Regions from separate parts of the Homo sapiens genome. Here region 2 is linked to region 1. The links are contacts of gene promoters, found by promoter capture Hi-C in blood cells and fetal thymus (Javierre and others, 2016). All regions are on one chromosome and are shown on one strand. Each heading gives the region's core, a stretch centred on a gene start or on the middle of the fragment in contact. The rest is flanking DNA. Distances are from core to core; before and after follow the strand shown.

Region 1 (5,593 bases), core at 2,508-5,007:
TGGCTCCAGAGCCCCAGCTCTTAACCACTTAGCATGTGATGACTATTTGTCAAGTGCACCCCAGGGGCCTTCCGCTGCATCTAGCACACTACAGGCCACTCACACTAGCTGAACAAATGTGTGAGTGAATGGTTAGGTGGTACAGTCAGTTGTGGGCAGATACCTCTGGAACCTAGGAAAGGAGTTTAGTGAAAAGAGTAGTAGGATAGGAAGTAAGTGATTTGGAACTATTGGCCTCAATGTGATAAGAAACACCCTGAGGTTGGGGACCATAGGCATATAGCCTTCATGTATTCAAGGCCTCACAGGCCTAAGAGGAAAATGGGGTGATACTAATGGTGATAACCAAAACATCACTGGTTCTTGTCTCCATCAATTCCCACAGGCTGGAAGGTCACTGTGAAGTACCCTATATCTTTCTGAGGATCCCTATGGTGTGCCTAGCCTGTGCTCATCAACGTCCTTGCTCCTGCCAGGCACCTACACTGTCTGCTACTTCTCCTGAGGCACCTCATTCCCTTGGGACAGCCACTGTGACCATGTCCTGCTGGGATCCCCAGGTCTCCTGCTGCAGTTGATGAGCCAAAAGACTCACTCTGCTGATGCTGTACCCATTCAGCTGCCAAGAGGAGCAGAACATCCGTGGCCCCTTTGTGTTATACTGCATTAGAGGGGTACCCAAGCAGGATGGTATGTGTACCAATGCATCATAGAGACTTCAGCCAAACAGCTCTTCTGTTCTCTACAGGACACAGGCATGCATCCTATGGGGCCTAGGCCACAAGAGAGTCAACAGGCTGTACTTGGAATCAACACTAGAGCTAGCTGGCCATGCCTGGATCCCTCTCCCCTCTGGCGAATTCCATCTCTAGGGGCTCCTTGTTCCCTGCCAAACAGGTTTCCATAAAGCACTCATTTGCCAAGAAGTTCCGGGTGTTTCTGACCGTGAACTTAAGCTCAAGTTTCCCCTAAACCTGCTTTTTTTCCATTGGTAACCCTGCACATAATACTCTGAGATTTTGTTTAGAAAAACAGACTGAAATTTCTTTAGGGCTGTGTGCATGTATTTGGGGCATGAATGAATGTGCCTATTAGCTCATTCTGTTCTAAACCCTATGATTCCCCGGATGTCACGTGCCACCTGTTCCTACTGACTAGGTACCAGGCACTGAAACCACCATTGCAAAATTATAACTGAGATGGTGAAAGGGATCTGACCTAACCGACTCCATCTTGCTTCTCATCTCCAAGCTGTCTTTGTTCATTCCTAGGCATAGGCCAAACTAACTTTGGGGGGAACTTAGTTTATAGTGTAGCTTTGAAACAAAGACAATACCAGCCCTTTCCCAAACAAACCCCCTTCTTGCCCAGGAACTAGACTGCCTTTTCAGGACTAACAAATTAGCCACAAAATTAGAAATTATGGTTTAGGAGTCATGCAGCTAGAGGCTGCAAGATTCTAAACCTCAAATTGCTCCTGGGGATAACATCAACTATTGTAAAACCTAAGATCAGTGCTTAAGATATTTCACAGACACTGCACTCGATGGATCAGCTGGCACCACCCAGATGAATAAACTGGCTCATCTGGTCTTATGACCCCCACCTGGCAACTGACTCAGCACAAGAGGACAGCTTTGACTCCCTGTGAGTTCATCTCCTAGCCTACCAATCAGCACTCCCGACTCACTGACCCCTACCCACCAAATTATCCTTAAAAACTCTGATCCCTGAAAGCTAGGGAGACTGATTTGAGTAATAATAAAACTCCGGTCTCCCTCACAGCCAGCTTTGTGTGAATTACTCTTTCTCTATTGCAATTCCCCTGTCTTGATAAATCGACTCTGTTTAGGCAGTGAGCAAGGTGAACCTATTGGGCGGTTACAGCACTTTAACCATAAACCTTATGAGAAAGTGCCATTTCTCCATTTCACAGGTGAGAAAACTGAGGATTAAAAAGGTTACTCAAATAACTTTCCTAAGGATAAATGTGTGAGTCTTCTAACTCACACATTTATCAATGAACAAAACCGGATTCACAAGTACACTGGAGACTTTACATTTTGGGCAAGGATATTAAGCTAACGGGAGTGAGACAACCCTTCTTCAGTAGAAAAAAGGCGAGCAGCAGGCGCTGCTTTAGTTACCAGCACTTTGCTTCCTCCGTCTCCCCGCGCCAGGCATCGGGCATCCCAACCTCGACTTTGGCCTTCAACTTGGCGCGCTCCGGAGCTAGAGCTCTGCGGTAGCGAATCTGATCGCGTGTCCATGCCCGCCCCCTGTCCCGCCTCCTGGCTTTTGACCCCGTCCTTGGTCCCGCCCCGGGCCCTGGCTCCTGGCCCCGCCCTTGGTCCCGCCCCGGGCCCCTGGCTCCTGGCCCCGCCCCAGCCCAGGCAGGTCACTGCGCCATTTCCTGTCCAAAGCTGGGCGAATCAGGTCGGTGCCGCGGGGTACCCCGGAATCCCCCCTGGGAGCTGGTCCTGCACTGGCCTTCAGAGCCGAGCAGAGGACGCTGCTTTGGGCCCCAGAGCATGGGAAGGTCTTGGCTGCGGTCTGGGACGGCTGCGGTCTGGGACCTGCATGGAGGGCCCGGGACTTGCGGACGCCTGGGAGCGGTTGCTGGGCAACAGTGCGTGCGGCCTGGCCTCTTTGCGCCCGGCGGGCAGCGCGCGTCTGGGGCAGGCTCCGCGCGGGGCTCGGGCACAGGTCCCCGCTGCCGCAGCCCTACCGAGTGAAGCACTGAGCGCGGCGCCGCTTCGCCATCACCTGGCTCTGGCCCTCTCACCCTAGCGTAGGGGGGCACTGGCCAGGCAGTGAGGACCCTGAGATCCATGCCCTGGGAGACAGAGGTTGTCTCCTGTCCATGCACCCGCGCGCCTGCCTTCTAACCTTCATACCGTTGGGCAGATTAATTCACTGGACTAGGCCTCTGTTCCGTGGGAGTTGAAAAGATTTGACCTGGAAGAAACCCTAGCGATTATTCAGTTAAGCCGCAACCCCACCCCCTGTTTTATATAGGTAAGGGTGCTTCACGGTGAGGACTCGTCGCGTGCCTGGTGCTTTACATCAGTCCCCAGAATAGTCCTCGTAGTTTCTCTCTTACTGTTCCCATAGTATGGGTGAGGACTCTGAGGCTCGGAGAGGTTGTGAATTTAGCCAGAATCACACAGCTTGTAACTGGTGGAGATGAGGACACTGAGACTCGATTAAATCACTCGTAGTTTGTTCGTGGCAGATTACGTGTTAGAAGCGTGTTACACTACTATGAAACCTGGCCATAAATGAGAATCACCTGGAAAGTGTTTAAAATCTATATTCGTGTCTGGGCAATGTCCCGGGTTTACTGACTTGAAATCTCGGGCTACGGCTGAGGAAGCTGTATATTTAACAATCTTCCCGATGATTTTTATGATCTGTGGATGAACCACTGAGTACTGCTGGGTACACCACGGGGCCTTCTCGCACAAAAACAACTGTAAAATAATATCTGAGGTACCTAGAGCAGAAGAGACGCTGGTGAGCATGGTAACATTATGTTCTAATCCCTTCAGTCAATTTGTACCCTTTCTTCACTCTTCAGAAACAAGCCAAAGGCAGATTTTAAACAAGTATGGACATTTAGATGCAAATTGCCCCAAGTTTGTTACCTGTCACACATCCACATTTAAGCTTCTGACTAGACCAGCCTGTCATGATCAAAGTCAGGTGTTAGTGTATTTCTCTATCCTTGGCAACCTGTCATCTGCTCTCTTCTCATCTCCATGCCAGGTCCCTAAATCGCCGGGGTTGATGTTGGCTTTGGAAGAACTATTTGCAGAGCGTTTTCTGCACTGGAAGGAGGGCTGGAAGCTTTCTGGAAGCATTGCCGCACGTAAATGAGTGCCTCTTGGCCTAAAACAGCAGTTGGAATGAAAGGGATCACCCTGCTGTTATTCATTGACATAAACAAAACTGTCATAAAAATAATCACTTGGCTCTTAGTTTTAGAAGGCTAATAAGCCTGACCGTTCTGTTTAGTGCTTTATTATTATTAATTTCACCATTATGCTGCATCCCTTAGGGATTCCGGTTCACAATGGATGCTGATAAAGAGAAAGATTTGCAGAAATTTCTTAAAAATGTGGATGAAATCTGTAAGTACTAGTAAATCATAAATTAATTTCTGCTTTAGAGAAGTGGAGTAGATAAATGATTGCTCTAAGTTCCTGGGTGGCTTGACAGGTTTATAACTCTTAGGAAAAAAATGTAATTGAAATTAAAGAGAAGGGTATTGAGAAACAAGTTATAGCCTCAGGGCTGTATTTTCTGGCTGTTAATTGGTATCAGAGAAACTGTTAACATTCTGATAGGAATTCAGGCTGACGGTTTTCTTCCATATTTTGTATCCTTCTATGTGGAATCCAGTCAAAACCAGCTGCTGTTTCCCCATTGACAATGAACCCAGCTGTTCCCTTCAAGGGTCAAGAACCTCATTGATCAGTGTGAGATTCCTCCCGTTTTAGAGTAGAGCCATTTCTGTTTTAGAGCTGCAGAGGCAAAATCAAATGGCTTTCCTTTAGGATCCATCAAATTACATGGATGGTTTATGATCATCATTCCCTTCTCTCTCTCTAGACAAGAAAGTCCTTTCCCAAGTTCAGGCAGGTTGGATCTCAAAGAAATGTACTCTGATCCCACAGATCACATTCAGGAATTTCCAAACCTGTCAGTCCCTGTTCAGGGAGCTTGCTTGAGTATAGAAACAAACAAACCAACAAGCAAACAGACCTTACATAGTAAATACAGGCAATATGCTGAAATTGCTGCTTGTAGCAGATTGTATGGGTTCAAGGAATAAAGTGGTTTTAAAGCTAGCTTGGGTGACATCGTAAATGATACATGAATAATGCTTATCCCTGAATGCTGTTCCATGGAGCTCTGGCCTTGGCCCACTGCCACCTTTCTCTTCAGCTGGTCTAAACATGTAGCTTTACCTGCCACCTGTTTGTTCATGACCCCCACATCTACATGGACACTTAGCCTTCTTTTCTGAGCCTCTGCCTCTATGGTACTGTCATACCTACTGTATCCCACAAATAAACTTAAATGTGTCCAAAATTGAGGCATCATCTCTTTCCCTCCCCTTTGCCCTCCCCCTCCCAAATAAAACCTGCTTCTCCTACCCTCACCTTCATCCTGGTCTCAGTTGGTGACACCACCATCCAGAAATTTACAGGTCATCTGGGACTCCTCCCAACTCATAACCCTGCATCCAATTAGCCATCTAGTTTGGTTGGAGAGCCATCCTCTCCAGCCCTCCCTTTGTTCTGGTTCTTCTCACCCAGACTATGTCAACAACCCCCTGATTGTTTTTCCTGTCTCCAGGCTTATACTTCCCACAGAGTAATGTATCTAAAATGCAAATCTGACCCAGACACTTCTCTGCTTGGATTCCTTTTGCAGTCATAATAAATCCCAAGCTCTCATCAGGACTTAAGTCCTCCCATGACCTTGTCCTTACCTCTCTCATATCTCCCTACCTCACGCTTGAGCAGCAATAAACTGCTGATACTTCGCCACACATACTCTGTGTTTCACACTCTGCACTGGATCT
Region 2 (5,562 bases), core at 1,017-3,516, 1.5 Mb before region 1:
TGTGGGTACTTATATCTTTCCATTTACGACTGCACGGTAATTATTTGCTGACACATAAAGGCAGTGACCTCATTAGATTCATTTTGGTGGTCTTTTTTTTTTTTTAAGAGATGGGGGTCTCACTATGTTGCCCAGGCTGGATTCAAACTCCTGGGCTCAAGTGATCCTCCAGTCTCAGCCTCCTGAGTAGCTGGTACTACAGGCTTGTGCCACCAAGCCCCCTCACATTGGTCTTCTTCAACATTAACATTGTAAACTATGATGTGTCTGATAAAGTAGACTCTCAATAAATGTCAATTAAATTGAACTAAATTCATCAAACTCACAAAGTCAGAAGCAAAAGTTAAACTGACAAAGACAAAATGCTGCTAGGTGAGAATTAAAACTTCCACCATCGCGCGGGGGAACCATAAAAACAATCAAACCCTTTTTCTCCCTACATCTAAACTAATAAGTCTACAGACGCAGAAAAGGAGGACGAAGTTCTCTTATTTACAGAAAAAAAAAAAAGGAGTTGAGTGCAAAGTGCCTACAGTACTTATTCTCTCAATGACTAACATTATGACTATCTGCCCATAAAAAGATCTGCATAAAAAATGCTGCAGTGTGTCTATCACCAAACAATGTATCATTTATACTGCAAAAGTTGTAGAAGGAGGGTAGGCAGCTTATAAATACTCACCAGCAGACAGTGGGCAAAGTCAGGACCTCCCACTAGGCCAGTGAAATTTCCCAGCTGCTCAGCAAGAGCTAATAGTACCTCATCTTCATCATAAATTGTATCTGGAAGTGACAACAACAGGACTCATCAACATGGATAGCTCTCCCACAGCTGGACACTGACACAAAACTAGGAACAGATTCACTATGCGACCAGGAAGGTGACCCAGTCAAAATCCTAACAGCATTTTCTTTCTTCTCAACCGTCTTCCTGTATCTGCTTTGCACAACGAATTAGAAATTCATACTCCCGTATCAATTACTTTCAATAGCTAAATGGTTGATGTTTGAATATATCTAGCCACAACTAACAATATACTCTGTTCTGTTTCTTTTGCACAAAAAACACCTGGCTCATTTTAATGTGGGTAATAAACTCTAAAAAAGTCAGTGTTGAAAGCTACTGGAAAATGGAATGTCCCTACCTTTCTTTAAACAAAGATTCACATACCTGTAAGAAATGGCAACAATTCACTTCGGGTCCTTTCTACTCCAAGTGCTAGGGCAATTGTTGATAACTTCTTAATACTGTTGAGTCGGAGCTTCAGAAAAGAAAGTAGAAAGAAGAACAATGTAAAGAAACGGCTGAATTTAGATCAAAAGACAAAAGGTGCTAACAGGTGAAATTATGACACAGGGGTAAGAATGAAGATAACCTTTCATTTAGATTTTACTGTTAAGGAAGCTCATAAGGACTTCCAAAAAGAAGTGTAACTCGGCCTCACTAGCCGGCGGAGGATTTCCCAGGAGAAACACTCAGAAGGGACCGGAAGAGAAATGAAGGAAAGACAATACAACACCTAGGAAGTAAGATAATTTTAAAAAGAGAGCACTTTGGCAGTGGTGAAGCAGGTGAAACGGTTGAATACAACACCTGTGGTTTCAAAGAAAAGTTCCCACAGAGCGGATACACTACTCGTCCAGATTAATCGGCCATCCCACCCCCGCTTTCTACCCAACAAGCCGAGCCAGTTCCAAGCCGAGATGAAGGGATCCAGGGGCACTTCAAAGGGCTTCTGGGCATCCTGCGCCCCTCAGCCGCTCCAGCCCCGTCTCGGCCTGGCACCGCGCTTCTCCTGCTCCCTCGCCCAAGAGACGCGGCCACCTCACGGCCCGGATGGGGCGCCCAGGCGGGAAGCGGGTTCCCCGACAACCGCCCGGGAAGGGCAAGGCTCCGGGCGGACGCCTCAGGGGGTCCGAAGCAAGGTTACTAGAGAGGTACCCGGGAGGGTCGGGGCGTGTCACCACAGCCCCTCGCGGAGCATTCCCCGCCTCCCCTTCAAGTTTCTGCTACGAGTCCGACTCATTCAGTACCTCGGCCACCCCCACCGCGACGCAGGCCTTCCCCCTTCTCTACCACGCGACCAGCCGGTCTCGCCTCGGGTCCCCGGCCTCAGTCCAGTACCTGCACGTCTTCATTGCGGAGCTCGTCGATTAAAACCGCGATCGGGTATAGCGAATCATCTCCATCTCCACCCGCTGCTCCTGGGCCGGTCCCGAGCTCTGATGCGCCCGCCATGTTCTTTCTCCTCCTGCTGCTGGTCACCGCCTCCCGCCCCGCGCCCAGGCCCCGCCCCGCGCCCAGGCAGTAGGGACGAAGGCCGCCACGCTGGTTTAGCCGAAGTTGGGGAGCCGCGTTTCTGTCCCGATGATTAAGGCTCCCTTCTGACCCCCACTGCAGGAGTTGTAGGTCTGAACTCAAGAAGACGGGTGGGCTAAGAAAGCGAATGGAACCCCTGCGTCCTTTCCCCAGCCGAAAGAAACAGGGACAGGGATTCATCCAGCTCGTTGTAGTCTGAAGGAGCCAGGAACCTACCTGAATGATCTGCGCTGTGCCCTCTTAAGACTCAGGCGGACCAAAGAGAGTGCCCGAGGCCAGGAGGAAAAAGGCTTTAGCACCTCCCCTGACTTCTTCCTGGCCCTGAGCCACTGGATCTCCAGCCCTAATTTCTCCGCTCAGACTCAAACTTCCACAGAACCCCTCCACCTCTTCCCGCGGCTCTTTCTCCAGAATGGTATCTGGCTCCTGCTCCGTAAGACAAATAACGCGGGCGGTGAGAGAAAATGAACAGTGCTGTCCAAACTCCCCAGTCAATATTTTTTCCACGCAAGCTGTTAAAAACATGCTGCTCTCTTGTTTTTGTGTTTCTTTTCAGTTTGGTACTGGAATGGTGCCTTCTGTTGTATTTTCTTCCTCCCATTTTTTAGCTCTTTAGCATGCTAGAAGTACAACAATGAAGCAAAACTAGGACAAGCTTTAATCCTTCCAAATTGGGTGGGGTGGCTACTTTCTTGAGCAAGAAAACCCAAACTGGCCTCCCTAGACCTCCAAGAGTCCTCAGAGGCAGCAAGGGGAAGAGGTGGAGGTCTGGGAGCTCGTTCTTACAAACCTGAATGGAAAGTTTTCACTTACCCCTGTCAGGGTAGCACAGAATAATTAGAATGTTTTGTTTGTTTTAGACTGGAATTTAAGCAGCTTGGAGTGATAACTACATATGGTGATCACAAGCTCCGAAATGGTAATTCTATGTGCCTGATTAATAAAACTATAAATGCAGTGTAGGAGACAAACTTTTTTAAAACATGGGATTCTGAGGCCGAGGCGGGCGGATCACTTGAGGCCAGGAGTTCGAGACCAGCCTGGCCAACTTGGTGAAACCCTGTCTCCACTAAAAAATACAAAAATTAGCTGGGCTGGTGACGGGAGCCTGTAGTCCCAGCTACTCGGGAGGCTGACATGAGAATCGCTTGAGCCCGGGAGGCAGAGGTTGCAGTGAGCCAGGATCGCACCACTGTACTCCAATCTGGGCGGCAGAGTGAGACCCCGTCTCTAAAATAAATAAATAAATAAATAGCGTTCTTGGAAGTAAGCACAATAGAGCCTTTGAATGAATGAATGAAATAATGAATAAATAAATAAATAAATAAATAAATAAATAAATAAATAAATGGGGTTCTTGGAAGTAAGCACAATAGCTAGAGCCTTTGATAGTAATGAAAGTTTGGGAACCAGCAGACCTGAACAGTTTTTCTCAAATTATGTCTGCGAATGTATTCTCTAGGGTTTTAATTTTATTTTCATTTTCATATTTTTTAGATTTGTATAAGCATATTCTGAATTATTTGGGTGACCACCTTACAACCAAGTATTGCCACACAATTTCAGCACCCACATTTACATGTGTGTTTTAGTGCTGCTTTTATTGTTCTGGGATAATGAGAAAAGAACAGAGGTGGTTTTAAAATGACAATGATACTTTCATGCACAAAATGAAAGCCAAATGCATCATGAGATTGCACTATTTGGTAGTTGTAACAGAAAAATGGTGAGAAAATTAAGATATCAGGAGTCACTTGGTGGCATAGGCATGTTGAACACAAAAGAAGCTGAGCTATAGCAGGCAACACCATAGTAACAATACGACGGATGACAGTTTTAGCAAAATACATCATTTGTCACGTTAAATTACTATAATATTTTTAATTGAATAGTATTCATTTTGTGGTTTCATTTGTATTTAATTTGTAAATTTGTTGTGGTTTTTTTTTAGCTGTGTAAGAACTAGAAATAAAAGCACATTTTTCCTACTTTATATTCGTAAATTTAAATAACCACAGCATAATAAAAACAATTTAGCTAAACATGGTAACGCGTGCCTGTCTTCCCAGTTACTTGGGAGGCTGAGGTGGGAGGATCACTTGAGCCTAGGGGTTCATGACCATCCTAGACAACACAGCAAGACCCCCATCTCTAAAATAATAATAATAATGACTTAACTGAGAGTTTTCAGGATTTTAAAAAATTATTGTGTTGTGTGTGTGTGTGTGTGTGTTTAACAAACAGGGTCTTGCTGCGTTTCCCAGGCTGGAGTGCAGTGGCACAATCATAGCTCACTGTAACCTTAAACTCCTGGACTCAAGCAATCCTCCAGCCTCAGCCTCCTGAGTAGCTAGGACTATAGGCATGTGCCACCACATCCAGCTTCGTGTGTGTGTGTGCGTGTGTGTGTGTGTGTGTGTGTGTGTATGGAGACAGAGTCTCACCATGCTGCCCAGGCTAAAAATGGATTCATATATTTAATACTACCCAACTTGGAGAGACAGAGGGCTAAGAGGTTTTTTTAACTTAGTACTTTACCAGTTAGAAGATCAGAGGGGATTCCTGTAGGCATTGAGAGGAGGAATCTGTTTTCTTATACTTTATGTAAAAAGTCACCTGGGGCAGTGGTGCACATGATGGATCACTTGAGCTCACGGGTTCAAGACCAGCCATGGGCAGCATAGCAAAACCCCATCTCTAAAAAAAAAAAAAAAAAAACTTAGCAGGACGTGGTGGTGTGCACCTATAGTCCCAGCTACTCAGGAGGCTGAGGTGGGAGGATCACTTGAGCACATGAGGTTGAGGCTGCAGTGAGCTGAGGTCACACCACTGCGCTCCACCCTGGGTGAGAAAGCAAGACCCTGTCTCAAAAAAAAAAAAAAAAAAAGAGTCTTGGACAGGTGCAGTGGCTCACACCTGTAATCCCAGCACTTTGGGAGGCCGAGATAGGAGGATTGCTTAAGTCCAGGAGTTCAAGACCAGTCCTAGCAACATAGTGAGATCCCCATTCCTACAAATAAAACACAAAAATTAGCTGGGCCTGTAGTGCACGCCTAGTTTCAGCTACTCAGGAGGCTGAGGTGGGAGGATCACTTGAGCCTGGGAGGTTGAGGCTGCAGTGAGCTGTGACTGCCACTGCACTCCAGCCTAGGTGACAGAGTGAGACCCTGTCTCAAAAAAAAAAAAAATTAAAGTCTTCAGAAATAATAAAGGAAGCATGCACAGAGAGAAGCAGATTAAGT

Evidence for each region. The method cuts DNA at HindIII sites, captures the fragments that hold promoters and counts their contacts. A CHiCAGO score of 5 or more calls a contact.
Region 2: the fragment with the promoter of PPP2R1B here is called in contact with a fragment that was not itself captured in region 1 in 1 of 17 cell types (non-activated CD4 T cells); the score reaches 6.7 in non-activated CD4 T cells.

Annotation. Positions count from the first base shown.
Region 1 is chr11:113,312,183-113,317,775 of GRCh38, forward strand. TTC12 (tetratricopeptide repeat domain 12) reads left to right here and starts at 2,401. Exons shown (of 22, transcript NM_017868.4): 1 at 2,401-2,436; 2 at 4,061-4,133. The coding sequence starts at 4,076. TTC12-DT (TTC12 divergent transcript) reads right to left here and starts at 2,274. Exons shown (of 5, transcript NR_199709.1): 1 at 2,148-2,274. RefSeq lists silencers at 2,212-2,461, 2,485-2,779, 2,672-2,771. The HindIII fragment of the contact is 180 bases long and covers 3,668-3,847 here.
Region 2 is chr11:111,764,123-111,769,684 of GRCh38, forward strand. It overlaps PPP2R1B (protein phosphatase 2 scaffold subunit Abeta), which reads right to left and starts at 2,267. Exons shown (of 15, transcript NM_002716.5): 1 at 2,126-2,267; 2 at 1,172-1,262; 3 at 683-783. The coding sequence starts at 2,239. It also overlaps a transcript of ALG9 not described here. RefSeq lists enhancers at 1,293-2,196, 2,083-2,262, 2,283-2,332. The HindIII fragment of the contact is 3,920 bases long and covers 1-2,973 here.